Linked DNA regions of Homo sapiens: regions 1 and 2 are each linked to region 3. The links are contacts of gene promoters, found by promoter capture Hi-C in blood cells and fetal thymus (Javierre and others, 2016). All regions are on one chromosome and are shown on one strand. The core of a region is centred on a gene start or on the middle of the fragment in contact, and the rest is flanking DNA. Distances in the headings are between cores, read along the strand shown.

Evidence for each region. The method cuts DNA at HindIII sites, captures the fragments that hold promoters and counts their contacts. A CHiCAGO score of 5 or more calls a contact.
Region 1: the fragment with the promoter of ZNF426 here is called in contact with the fragment with the promoter of OR7G3 in region 3 in 4 of 17 cell types (non-activated CD4 T cells, total CD4 T cells, total B cells and 1 more); the score reaches 7.6 in non-activated CD4 T cells.
Region 2: a fragment that was not itself captured here is called in contact with the fragment with the promoter of OR7G3 in region 3 in 2 of 17 cell types (total CD8 T cells and naive B cells); the score reaches 5.2 in total CD8 T cells.

Annotation. Positions count from the first base shown.
Region 1 is chr19:9,536,929-9,541,117 of GRCh38, reverse strand. ZNF426 (zinc finger protein 426) reads left to right here and starts at 2,473. Exons shown (of 8, transcript NM_024106.3): 1 at 2,473-2,543; 2 at 2,773-2,859. ZNF426-DT (ZNF426 divergent transcript) reads right to left here and starts at 2,452. Exons shown (of 2, transcript NR_134921.1): 1 at 2,120-2,452; 2 at 1,388-1,712. RefSeq lists enhancers at 252-1,451, 2,106-2,175, 2,376-2,425, 2,432-3,167. The HindIII fragment of the contact is 12,585 bases long and covers 109-4,189 here.
Region 2 is chr19:9,567,669-9,571,982 of GRCh38, reverse strand. It overlaps ZNF121 (zinc finger protein 121), which reads left to right. Exons shown (of 4, transcript NM_001008727.5): 2 at 2,901-2,981; 3 at 3,808-3,888. The coding sequence starts at 3,886. Among named protein-coding and RNA genes, the nearest start is that of ZNF121, 15 kb to the left of the region's middle. The HindIII fragment of the contact is 7,355 bases long and covers 1-4,314 here.
Region 3 is chr19:9,124,592-9,128,855 of GRCh38, reverse strand. It overlaps OR7G3 (olfactory receptor family 7 subfamily G member 3), which reads left to right and starts at 1,906. Exons shown (of 1, transcript NM_001001958.1): 1 at 1,906-2,844. The coding sequence starts at 1,906. The coding sequence ends at 2,844. The HindIII fragment of the contact is 3,002 bases long and covers 1-2,616 here.

The sequences.
Region 1 (4,189 bases), core at 1,224-3,723, 410 kb before region 3:
GGCTCTACCAATCAGCAGGATGTGGGTAGGGCCAGATAAGAGAATAAAAGCAGGCTACTGAGCCAGCAGTGGCAACCCCCTTGGGTCCCCTTCCACGCTGTGGAAGCTTTGTTCTTTTGCTCTTTGCAATAAATCTTGCTACTGCTTACTCTTTGGGTCCATGCTGCCTTTAAGAGCTGTAACACTCACCGCAAAGGTCTGTAGCTTCACTCCTGAGCCAGCGAGACCACAAACCCACCAGAAGGAAGAAACTCTGAACACATCCGAACATCAGAAGGAACAAACTCCAGACACGCCGCCTTTAAGAACTGTAACACTCACCGCGAGGGTCCACGGCTTCATTCTTGAAGTCAGTGAGACCAAGAACCCACCAATTCTGGATACGTTAGGACCTGGCTCAGCTTGGCGAGGAGCAGCCTGAGGGGGAGGGGAGAGGTCAGATGGGTCCATAGAAAAGGAGGATTCAAAGGACAAGAAAGAAACAAGAAAGATTTGGGATGAGTCACATTGGGAGCAAAGACTAGGGACGGACCAATGTGTAAAGAATGCCTGGATGTCAGGCATCTCAGACCATTTGCCCATTTTATGACAAAAATTATCTAGATCTTGTAGGATGGAGAAATCAAAAGTGCCATTTTCTGGCCATTTAGAACCATTGTCAAGTTTGTACTGGGGCCAAGTGGTGTTGCAGAAGAAAATAAGGTATTTAGGTTTTAGGTCAGGTGTGAGTTGAATAGGTTTTAAGTTCTTGAGAACACAGGCTAAGGGAGAAGAACAGGGAATGGAGGGCAGAAGATTGCCCATAGTGAAGGAGGTAAGTTTAAAGAGAAAGGTAGAGACATGGAGAAGGCAGTGGAGTGGGGTGGGGGTGAGCAGCCCTGGGCTGTAATGTGGGTAAGCAGCCAAAGCAGGCAGCCCTGCAATTGACTTGCCACCAAGGGAATGTGGGTGAATGATCAAGGCAGGCATCCCCACAGTGATCAGACACCAATGGAATGTAGGTGAATAATCAGGCAGGTATCCCTACAGTGATTAGCCACCAAGGAAAGACTGTCTTCCTGAGTCCGTGACTGGAGCTGGAGTTTTGGGTCCACAGATAAAATGTGTCTCCTTTGTCTCTACTGGAGAGGAAAAAGAACTGGAATTGGAAGGACAGAGAGATGGAAGGGTAGTGAGAGAGGCTGGAGAAGAGAGTGAAGAGACTGCTTACCCAATTTGAAATTGGTGAGATGTTCCTTGGGCTAGTCTGAGGACCCGAGGTAGTAGGTGGAGCTCCTCACGGAGTGAGGGTGAGGACGGGGCCAGTCTCCCAAGGGAGTCCCCCTGTCCCAGGTTTCGGAACCAAATGTTACACACATCCATGTGAAGAGACCACCAATAGGCTTTGTGTTAGCAACAAGGCTGTTTATTCACTTGGGTGCAAGTGGGCTGAGTCCGAGAAAGGGGTCAGCAAAGGGAGATAGGGGTGGGGCAGTTTTATAGGATTTGGGTAGGTAGTGGAAAGTTAAAGGTGGTTATCTTTTGCTGGCAGGGCCGGGGGTCACAAGGTGCTCGGTGGGGAACTCCTGAGACTCGTCCAGAAGAAGAATGTCACAAGGTCAAGAGATCAGTTGGGGTGGGGCAGCAACAAATCACAATGGTGGAACGTCATCAGTTAAGGCAGGAACTGGCTGTTTCACTTCTTTTGTGGTTCTTCAGTTGCTCCAGGCCATCTGGATGTATACGTGCAGGTGACAGGGTTTATGATGATTTAACTTGGGCTCAGAGGCCTGACAAGTAGTTCAAGACCAGCCTGGCCAGCATGGCAAAACCCTGCCTCTACTAAAAATACAAAAATTAGCAGGGTGTGGCAGCATGCACCTGTAATTCCAGCTACTTGGGAGGATGAGGCAGGAGAATCGCTTGAACCTGGGAGGTGGAGGTTGCAGTGAGCTGAGATGGCTCCACTGAACTCCAGCCTTGGTGACAGAGTGAGATTTTGTCTCAAAAAAAAAGAAAAGATGTTTTAAAGCAAGGCAGAAAACCTAGAAATTATTTTTAAAAACAATTCTTTTAGCTGCATAGAAAATGTTTTTTACATCAAATGTTGAAATAGTAACAGAGCAAAAGACGTAGTTACCTATTTTCTACATGCATAACACATTGGCTCCTTCCCCTATGGCCGCCCTGCTGCGGCCTCGCCCACAGGCCTGGCTATAACTTCAACCTTTTCCTCTGGGCCTGGACCCACATTCCTCCCCGCCCCCTGCCCGTAGCCCTGCCCACAGGCTTGGCTCTAACCTCGACCTTGCCTTCTGGACCCATTTCTGCCTGCAGCCCCCACGCTGAGCCCACCCCAAGGTCCTCCGCAGCCAAGCAGATGGAAAGTAGAATTTTTCTGCCTCGAGGAGGTATTACACGGCAGAAACCCTAGTCCCGAAACCCCGCCTGGCCCGAGGCGGAGAGCGTAAATGACGTCAGCGGTGCGCCGTTCCTTTTGTGACGCCGGCTGTGAGCGCCTGAGAGTCTTTTTGCCTTTCAGAGTTAAGGCCTCACTGGCCTGGGTGAGTTCCGAGGAGATGAACTGGTTTTGGGGTGAAGGACGGGTTTGGCCCGGACGTTAGAGAGGCCTGGCCCGCTCTGCTCGTGTCTGCTGGGCCCGCTAGCGTCCGCTCGGACCGTCGCTCCTCGGGAGGAGTCGGGTTTATAGTTACGGTGTCCGCAGGGTGTTTTCATCTGTGCGCCCCTCTCCAAAGGCCTCCAAAGCAGCGTTTGTGAATTTTTTTCCGGCAGGAAAATAATTGCTGCCTTTTGCATCCGCGTTGGCTCCGTCCCCAGGATCTTCCCGGTTCAGGGACCTGGCGATTTCTGAGTGTTCCGGTGAGCACTGGGTGAAAGTTGGTTCTAGGGGGCCTTTTCTGTCTTCTCTTATGCAAACGAATGTTTCATCTGTAAGTTTGGTTTCGTCTTATTGTGTTGTGTTTTATTTTTGACCATTACTTTCATGGCGAAAGATAAAGATGCTTTTTAGGTTTATAGGGTGTGCGTATTTGTGTATGTGAATATAAACGTTTGTAGACCGCAAGTCTTTCTGCTAAAGAATACTAAGAATAATAATTCATTATCTTCGAATGGAGTTCCTAGGCCTGTACATCCCAAGAGAGCTTCTTAATCAGACCTCCAGAGGGAAAGGATGAAGGCTTTATTATTCTAGTATCACAATAATCAAATTTACAATGAACAGGATGGTTGGATTAAGGAGTTTGAAACCAGCCTGGCTAAGATGGTGAAACCCCGTCTCTACTAAAAATAGAAAAAAAATTAGCCGAGCGTGGTGGTGGGGTCTTGGAATCTCAGCTATTTGGGAGACTAAGGCAGGAGAATCACTTGAACCCAGGAGGCGGACGTTGCAGTGAGCTGAGATCGTGCCACTGCACTCCAGCCTGGGAGACAGAGTGAGCCTCCGTCTCAAAAGAAAAAAAAGAGAAACGAAGGATGTGTGCATTTTAAGCTACATTGATTGTATATCAATGAAAAAAAAAAAAAGCTGGCTGGGTACAGTGGCTCACACCTGTGATCCCAGCACTTTGAGAGGCTGAGGCAGGAAGATCTCTTGAGCCCAGGAGTTTAAGACCAGCCTGGGCAACATAGCAAGACTCCATCTCTCCAAAAAAAAAAAAAAAAAAAGAGTTAAATATTCTATACAGATGCCACCAAACTGAATATTTGTGGGCCTAGTCAGCCCTAGGACCCCTAGTTTGAGACCCCTGGGAGTAGGTGTGATCTATACCAGGAGTCCAGAACTGTGGTTTTTGTGACTTTAGGGTTTTAGTCTTATTGGTAGAAGGAGGCCTATAGAGTTTTTGTGAATTTGGTTCATGGATAATGAACTGCGGAACTTTCACTGTTTATCATCATTTGACTCCCATTCTGTAGGTGATTGTTTGAGCCACTGTTTCATGTTTGATTAATTAATGATTGTCATTATTATTATTATTATTTTTTTTTTGAGACAGAGTCTTGCTCTGTCACCTAGGCTGGAGTGCAGTGGTGTGATCTCAGCTCCCTGCAACTTCCATTTCCCAGGATCAAGCGATTCTCCTGCCTCAGCCTCCTGAGTAGCTGGGATTACAGCCGCACACCACGCCCGGCTAATTTTTGTATTTTTAGTAGAGATGGAGTTTCACCGTGTTGGTTAGGCCGGTCTTGA
Region 2 (4,314 bases), core at 839-3,338, 440 kb before region 3:
GACTAGCCTGGGCAACGTAGTGAAACCTCATGTCTATAGTAAAAAGAAAAAGAAAAACAATTAGCCAGGCATGGTAGTATGTGCCTATAGTCCCACATACTCGGGAGGCTGAGGCAGGAGGATTGCTTGAGCCCGGGAGTTTGAAGTTTGAAGTTGTAGTGAGCTATGATCATGCCACTCTAATCCAGCCTGGGTGACAGAGTAAGACCCTGTCTCTAATTTTTAAAAATGTGTTTTCTACTTCCTATTCATTGGATATGATCAGTATAATGGTGTCAACATAGTGTACTAGTGTGGTGTTTCATGGAATGTCATTTTCTCTGGGGATTAAGTTACGACAGAGACCTCGAGAACTGACACATTCTAGGGGCAATGTTATGAAGATACATTGTTGGTCCTGCCAGGTGAAAGGTAACCAAGTCTTGTTTTTTTCAAATTGGTATGGAGAAAAGACATTAGCTATGTCAATGCCTGCATACCAAGTGACAGAAATTATGTTGATTTATCTAGTAAAGGCATTACATTTTGAAAAATGGCGGTAATTGGAGTGATCACCTAAGTTCATGATTTATGAATGATTTCAGTGTGGTAATTGAGTGACAGGTTATGATTCTCCACTGGGATAAATCCAGTTTTTGGCTACTATAGTTTAGACTTTTTACATAGATGGAGCAGTATTCAAGTACAGAGATTGGTACACTATGGCCCATGGGCCATATCTGTCTCTCCATGTGTTTTTTGTATATAAAGTTTAATCAGAACACAACCGTGTTCATTTGTTTACATTTTCTATGGTATTTTCCATGCTACAACAGCAGAGTTGAGTAGCTGCAACAGAGACCATGTGGCCCATAATGCCTAACATATATTTTGTGGCTCTTTAGAGTAGGCTTTGTTAACTGCTTATCTATTTCATTTCTAGGGACAGCACGATCAGTTAGCCACCACCACAGATCTCTGTAGGTCAGGGCATTCTGATTACTGGTACATTTCCACTGTCCTTGATAGTTGATTTTCTCACCTTGTGTTTGGTGATTAAATACTACCTTCTTGATTTCTGCTATTCTGGGTCCCCTTCATCTCGATTGAAAGCAGGGAACTCGGCTGGGTGCGGTGGCTCACGCCTGTAATCCCAGCACTTTGGGAGGCTGAGGCGGGCAGATCACCTGAGGCCAGGAGTTCTAGACCATCCTGGCCAATATGGTTAAACCCCGTCTGTACTAAAAATACCCCCCCCCCTCGCAAAAAATTAGCCAAGTGTGGTGGCAGGTGCCTGTAATCCCAGCTACTTGGGAGGCTCAGGCAGGAGAATCGCTTTAACCCAGGAGGCGGAGGTTGCAGTGAGCCTAGACTGCGTCATTGCACTCCATCCTGGGCAACAAGAGCAAAACTCCGTCTCAAAAACAAACAAACAAACAAAAAAACCCAGGGAACTCATCTCAGTGATGGTATTCTTTGCAGTCATACCTGTCCTATGAAGGAGAATACCAACAGAGCTTTTCAAGGATTACGACACTCCCGCCACTACTCTCTTAATAACCTTTGTGAAGAGAGTGTCTTCTGCTCTGTCAACAAAGGGCGGGGGAGTGGGCTATACAGATGACACATAGTAAATCCAGTGCAACACTCCTGTCTCTCTAGGATTCCCTCCTTCACATTATGCCAGGGAAGCTCTGGCATATGAGCCTCATTAATTATAACAATTTCAGCCCTGAGAACATAAGAAATAACTTTATTTCAGGGGTGTCCTAAAGAAGCTCTCTGATTCTTTTGTTTTTGGATGGAATCTTGCTCTGTTGCCCAGCCTGGAGTGCAGTGGCATGATCTCGGCTCACTGCAGCCTCTGCTTCCTGAGTAAAAGCGATTCTCCTGCCTCAGCCTCCTGAGTGGTTGGGACTACAGGCACGTGCCACCACGCCCTGCTAATTTTTGTATTGCTTGAACTAGGGTGGGCGGCGGCAGAGGTTGTAGTGAGCGAAGATTGTGCCACTACACTCCAGCCTGGGGGACAGAGCAAAAATCTCTCAAAAAGAAAAAAAAGAGAGAGAGAGAGAGATGTAATACTACCCATGATATAAGAAAAGCTACAAAAGACACAATATTCGAGCTTTTGACGATATCGTAAAAAAAAAAAAAAAAAAAAAGATCTCGGCCAGGCGTGGTGGCTCACACCTGCAATCCCAGCACTTTGGGAGGCTGAGGTGGGCGGATCACCTGAGGTCGGGAGTTCAAGACAAGCCTGGCCAATGTGGTGAAACCCTGTCTCTATAAAAATACAAAAAAATTAGCCAGACCTGATGGTGGGTGCCTGTAACCCCAGCTGCTCACGAGGCTGAGGCAGGAGAATCACTTGAACCTGGGAGGTGGAGGTTGCAGTGAGTTGAGACAGTGCCATTGCACTCCAGCCTGGGTGACAGAGTGAGACTCTGTCTCAAAAAAAAAAACAAAACCAGAAAACAAAATAATGATCTCTCTTTGCACTTGGATTATTTCCTATTTGAATACACGTTTTAATGGTTTTTATTTTATTTTTTTTAAGACAGGGTCTCACTTTGTCACCTAGGTTGGAGTACAGTGGTGCAATCATGACTCACTGCAGCCTCAACCTCCCCAGGCTCAGGTGATTCTCCCACCTCAGCCTCCCAAAGTTCTGGGATTACAGGCATGAGCCACTGCGCCCAGTCTTTAATGGTTTTTAAATGTGTATTTAAGTCTGAATAGTGGGTATTTGGTCAGAGATAACCAACTCCTCAGGGCACAAAAGGATGAGATATATGAAATTTGAGCTCTTTTAAAATAGTTTCACTACTCTCTTTAGGAATATAGTTGTTTTTTTCTTGGTTACGTTTGTCATTTCCTTCATAAGCCTCTTCCATTGATGTATCTTTCCCTCTGTACAGGACCTATTCAAACTCAGTCTGTCTCTTGACTGGAGGAGGAGAAGGAAAAGTTGAGCACATTGCCAACCGGAGTTCCCCAAGGTGAGTATGAAGAACACTCCTGGTCAATGAGAAGTTCAGTATGTTTGGAAGCATAATGAAGATATATTTAAAAGATGTACTTTGTCACAGAACATGGGGCCATTGGACTTGGAAGTTTTAGGGTATCTTCAACTTTCCATATTCCTCTCTTTTTCATCTAACCCAGACTTTCATGTGATTTTGCAAATGAGTGCTCTTTTATCTTTTTGTTTATGACTTTAATGTGTGCTCTTTATCCAGATCATTTCTATTTTCCTTCCCTAATACTATTTCTGTTCATTATCTCATTTAATTTCTATAGAATAAATTGTTTAAAAAATTACTAAATTGCTGGGCATGGTGGCTTATGCCTGTAATCCCAGCACTTTGGGAGGCTGAGGCGGGTGGATCTTTTGAGGTCAGGAGTTGAGACCAGCCTGGCCAACATGGAGAAACCCCGTCTCTACTAAAAATACAAAAATTAGCCGGGCCTGGTGGTGGGCACCTGTAATCCAAGCTACTCGGAGGCTGAGGCAGGAGAATCGCTTGAACCCAGGAGGTGGAGGTTGCAGTGAGCCGAGATCATGCCACTGCACTCCAGCACTCCAGTCTGGGTGACAGAGCGAGACTCTGTCTCAAAAAAAAAAAAAATTACTAAGTTTAGACCCCAAGTCCTTACGATTGCCAAATGTTCGTCATGGATAAACTGTTCAAATCTATGTCTGTTTAATTTTTTTGAGTGTGCTGAATATGACAAATAAAAATGAGCTTTATAATTCTGACTTATTTAACCTACTGTTTTGTTCTCAGACCCTATTTTTTTTTCTTTTTTTCTGTTTTACTTCAGAATGGCAAGTTAAAACCAAAGTGTCAGCACCTCAACAACATTTTTTTTTGGCTTAACAAAACATCAAACGGCATACAAATGGTAAGATTAAGATTTCTTATTTACCACACTCAAAAAAAGATTGGGATTCAATTATAAAAAATCAGCAAAAATGAGAGATATTTGAGAGAGGTAACATTTACTCAAGCAGGAGGAATGTCTCTAGAGCAAGGGTCCCCACTGGTACTGTTTCTGTTAGTGTTAGGAACTGGGCTGCACAGCAGGAGGTAAGTGGCAGATGAACGAAACTTCATCTGTGTGTATAGCCATTCCCCATCGCTTGTATTACTGCCTGTCATATACTCCACCTGTCAGTAGCAGCATTCGATTGTCATAGAAGCACAAACCTTACTGTGAACCACCCATGCGAGGGTTCTAGATTGTGTGCTCCTTATGAGACTGATGATCTGTCACTGTCTCCCATCACCTAGATGGGACTGTCTAGTTGCAGGAAAACAAGCTCAGGCC
Region 3 (4,264 bases), core at 657-3,156:
TATTTGTTTTAAGAGGCAGAGTCTTGCTCTGTTGCCCAGGCTGGCATGCAGTGACCCTATGAAAGCTCACTGCAGCTTCCAACTCCTGGGTTCAAGTGATCCTCCCAACTCAGCCTCCCAAGTTGCTGGGACTACAGACACGTACCACCGTGCCTGGCTAATTTTTAATTTAATTTAATTTTTAAAAAATGTTTACTATAGATGGGTCTTGCTACTTTGTTCAGGCTGGTCTCAAACTCCTGGCCTCAAGCGACCCTTCTGCCTCAGCCTCCCAAAGTGCTGGGATTATAGGTGTGAGCCGCTGTGTCTGGCCAGGAACTCAATTTGTGAAGCAAAGGGCTGAGATGGGCTCACTGCACCATTCAACTGTTCACATGCTGTGATTCTATAATATGTTTGCCCCAACTCCTGAGTCATCATTACAGAATTTCCTTAACTTATGGGTTTATGAGAACAGCAGGCTGATGTTTTGACATTGCCGGCATACATCAATTCTTTACTTCCTGCTTTGGGGGCCCCAGAATCAATTTCTCAAGAATCTGGATAAGCCAGAAGGAACAGGAAAGGTTTGGCGCTGACTCACACAGGACTCCTCCAGGAATCAGTGCCAAGGCTCAGGGGTTGCCTGAACCAGGGGCTGCACCAGTAATAATAGGAAGAGTGGGTGCAGTGGCTCAAGCCTGTAATCCCAGCACTTTAGGAGGCTGAGGCGGGTGGATCACTTCAAGTCAGGAGTTCAAGACCAGCCTGGCCAACATGGTGAAACCCTATCTCTGTTAAAAGTATAAAAATCAGCCAGGTGTGTTGGCACACACCTGTAGTTCCAGCTACTTGGGAGGCTGAGGCAGGAGGATCACTCAAACCCTGGAGGAAGAGGTTGCAGTGAGCTGAGATCCCACCACTGCACTCCAGCCTGGGTAGCAGAGCGAGACTCCATCTCAAAAAAAAAAAGAAAAGAAAAAAATAATGGAAAGAGGGTCTGATGCATGGCTTACTGTTAAAATTTTCTTTATTAACATTATCTGTGATACAAATGAAAGACAGATGAAGGCAAATAAAAATAGTGGGAGGGGCTTATGCTGCTAGATAAAGAGGGCTTAATTTTTATTTTCACAAACTGTAATGAGAAAGGGAAATTGGTGGGTGAGAAAGACACTGATAGGGTACCTAGGAAGGAAGTAAAGAACAGGCTGGGCATGGGGGTTCATGCCTGTCATCCCAGCTATTTGGGAGGCTGAGAGAGGAGGATTGCTTGAGCCCAGGGGGATGAGGCTACAGTGAGCTATGATCATGCCACTGCACTCCAGCATGGATGACAGAGAGAGAGAGACCCTGCAAAGAAGAAAGAAGGAAAGAAAGAAGGAGGGAAGGAAGGGAGGAAGGAAGGAAGGAAGGAAAGAAAGAGAGAGAGAGAGAGAAAGGAAGGAAGGAAGGAAAAGAGAGAGAAAGAAAGAGAGGGGGGAAGGAGGGAAGGAAGGAAGGAGAAAAAGAGGAGGGAGAGAGGGAGGGAAGGAGGGAGGGAGAGAGAGAAAGAAAGAGAAAGAAAGGAAAGGAAGAAAGAAAGAAAAAGGAGAAAGAAAGAAAGAAGGAAAGAGAAAAGAAAGAAAGAGAAAGAGAAAAAGAAAGAGGAGGGAGAGAGGGAGGGAGGGAAAGAAAAAGAAAGTAAGAAGAAAGAAAGAAAGAGAAAGAAAGAAAGACGGAGGGAGAGAGAGAAAGAAAGAAAGAGAGAGAAAGAGAAAGAGAGAGAGGGAGAGAGAGAAAGAAAGAAAGAAAGAAAGAAAGAAAAAGAAAGGAAGGAAGGAAGGAAGAAAGAAAGAAAGAAGGAAGGAAGGAAGGAAAAAAGGTCTATAACTTATAACTGGTTTGGTTTTGATAATATTGACAAGATCAAGACTCATCAACAACATGAAAGCAGGAAACTTCTCAGACACTCCAGAATTCTTTCTCTTGGGATTGTCAGGGGATCCGGAGCTGCAGCCCATCCTCTTCATGCTGTTCCTGTCCATGTACCTGGCCACAATGCTGGGGAACCTGCTCATCATCCTGGCCGTCAACTCTGACTCCCACCTCCACACCCCCATGTACTTCCTCCTCTCTATCCTGTCCTTGGTCGACATCTGTTTCACCTCCACCACGATGCCCAAGATGCTGGTGAACATCCAGGCACAGGCTCAATCCATCAATTACACAGGCTGCCTCACCCAAATCTGCTTTGTCCTGGTTTTTGTTGGATTGGAAAATGGAATTCTGGTCATGATGGCCTATGATCGATTTGTGGCCATCTGTCACCCACTGAGGTACAATGTCATCATGAACCCCAAACTCTGTGGGCTGCTGCTTCTGCTGTCCTTCATCGTTAGTGTCCTGGATGCTCTGCTGCACACGTTGATGGTGCTACAGCTGACCTTCTGCATAGACCTGGAAATTCCCCACTTTTTCTGTGAACTAGCTCATATTCTCAAGCTCGCCTGTTCTGATGTCCTCATCAATAACATCCTGGTGTATTTGGTGACCAGCCTGTTAGGTGTTGTTCCTCTCTCTGGGATCATTTTCTCTTACACACGAATTGTCTCCTCTGTCATGAAAATTCCATCAGCTGGTGGAAAGTATAAAGCTTTTTCCATCTGCGGGTCACATTTAATCGTTGTTTCCTTGTTTTATGGAACAGGGTTTGGGGTGTACCTTAGTTCTGGGGCTACCCACTCCTCCAGGAAGGGTGCAATAGCATCAGTGATGTATACCGTGGTCACCCCCATGCTGAACCCACTCATTTACAGCCTGAGAAACAAGGACATGTTGAAGGCTTTGAGGAAACTAATATCTAGGATACCATCTTTCCATTGATGTCTCAGCTTCTTGGGCTTACACTGCTGGGATATGTCAGGGAGAAAGAAGTAATGAGAAGTCTTGAAAGCCTGACTAATGTCTTTGGGGTTTTCTGTTTTTGTTTTTGTTTTTGTTTGTTTGTTTGTTTTTTGAGATGGAGTCTCGCTCTGTTGACCAGACTGGAGTGTAGTGACGCAATCTTGGCTCACTGCAACCTCCGCCTCCTGGGTTCAAGCGATTCTCCTGCTTCAGCCTCCGGAGTAGCTGGGATTACAGGCACGTGCCACCAAGCCCAGCTAATTTTTCTATTTTTAATAGAGACGGGGTTTCACCACATTGGCCAGGATGGTCTCGAACTCCTGACCTCAGGTGATCTGCCCGTCTCAGCCTCCCAAAGTGCTGGGATTACAGGCATGAGCCACTGTGCCCCACCTGACCAATGTCTTTGAATACATGAGACCAGAGATCAGATGGTTCAGGGTGATAGTTTTGGAATCGGACCACGTGGACTTGAGTTCTTTTTGGATTGATTGACTGACTAATTGATTTTTGAGACAGTCTCTCACTTTGTTGCCCAGGCTGGAGTGCAGTGGTGTGATCACAGCTCACTGCTGCCTCGAATTCCTGGGCTAAAGCGATCCTCTGGACTCAGCCTGACGAGTAGCTGAGACTGCAGGTGCATGCCACCACACCTGGCTTTTTTTAAATTTTTGTATCAATGCATAAGAGATGTACATTGTTTCAGGATGCATGTGATAGTGTAATACATTTGTATAATCTGCAAGGATTTGTTACTTTAGATATCCATCACCTTAAATATTTGTCTTATCTTTATGCTCCAACCATTCCAATTGTTCTCTTCTAGGTATTTTGAAATATACAATGGATTATTTTGAACTATAGTCACCCTACTGGTCTATCCAATACTAAGTCTTTTTTTAAAAAAAATTAAATTTAATTAAAAATTTAAAAACTTATTTATTTATTTATTTATTTATTTATTTATTGAGACAGAGTCTTGCTCTGTCGCCCAGTCTAGAGTGCAGTGGCTCAATTTCGGCTTACTGCAACCTCCACCTCTGGGGCTCAAGCGATTCTCCTGCCTCAGCCTCCTGAATAGCTGGGATTACAGGCGCCTGCTACTGTGCCTGGCTCATTTTTGTATTTTTAGTAGAGACAGAGTTTCACCATGTTGGCCAGGCGGGCCTTGAACTCCTGACCTCAGGTAATCTGCCCGCCTCAGCCTCCCAAAGTGCTGGGATTACAGGCATGAGCCACCATGCCCAGCTAGCTAATTTATTTTTAATTTAAAAATTAAGTAATTTATTTACAATTTAAAAATCAAGTAATTAATTTTTAATTTTAATATTAAATGATTAATTTCTTTTTTAGAGAGAGCCTTGCTCTGTTGCCGAGGTTGAACTACAGTGGTGTGATT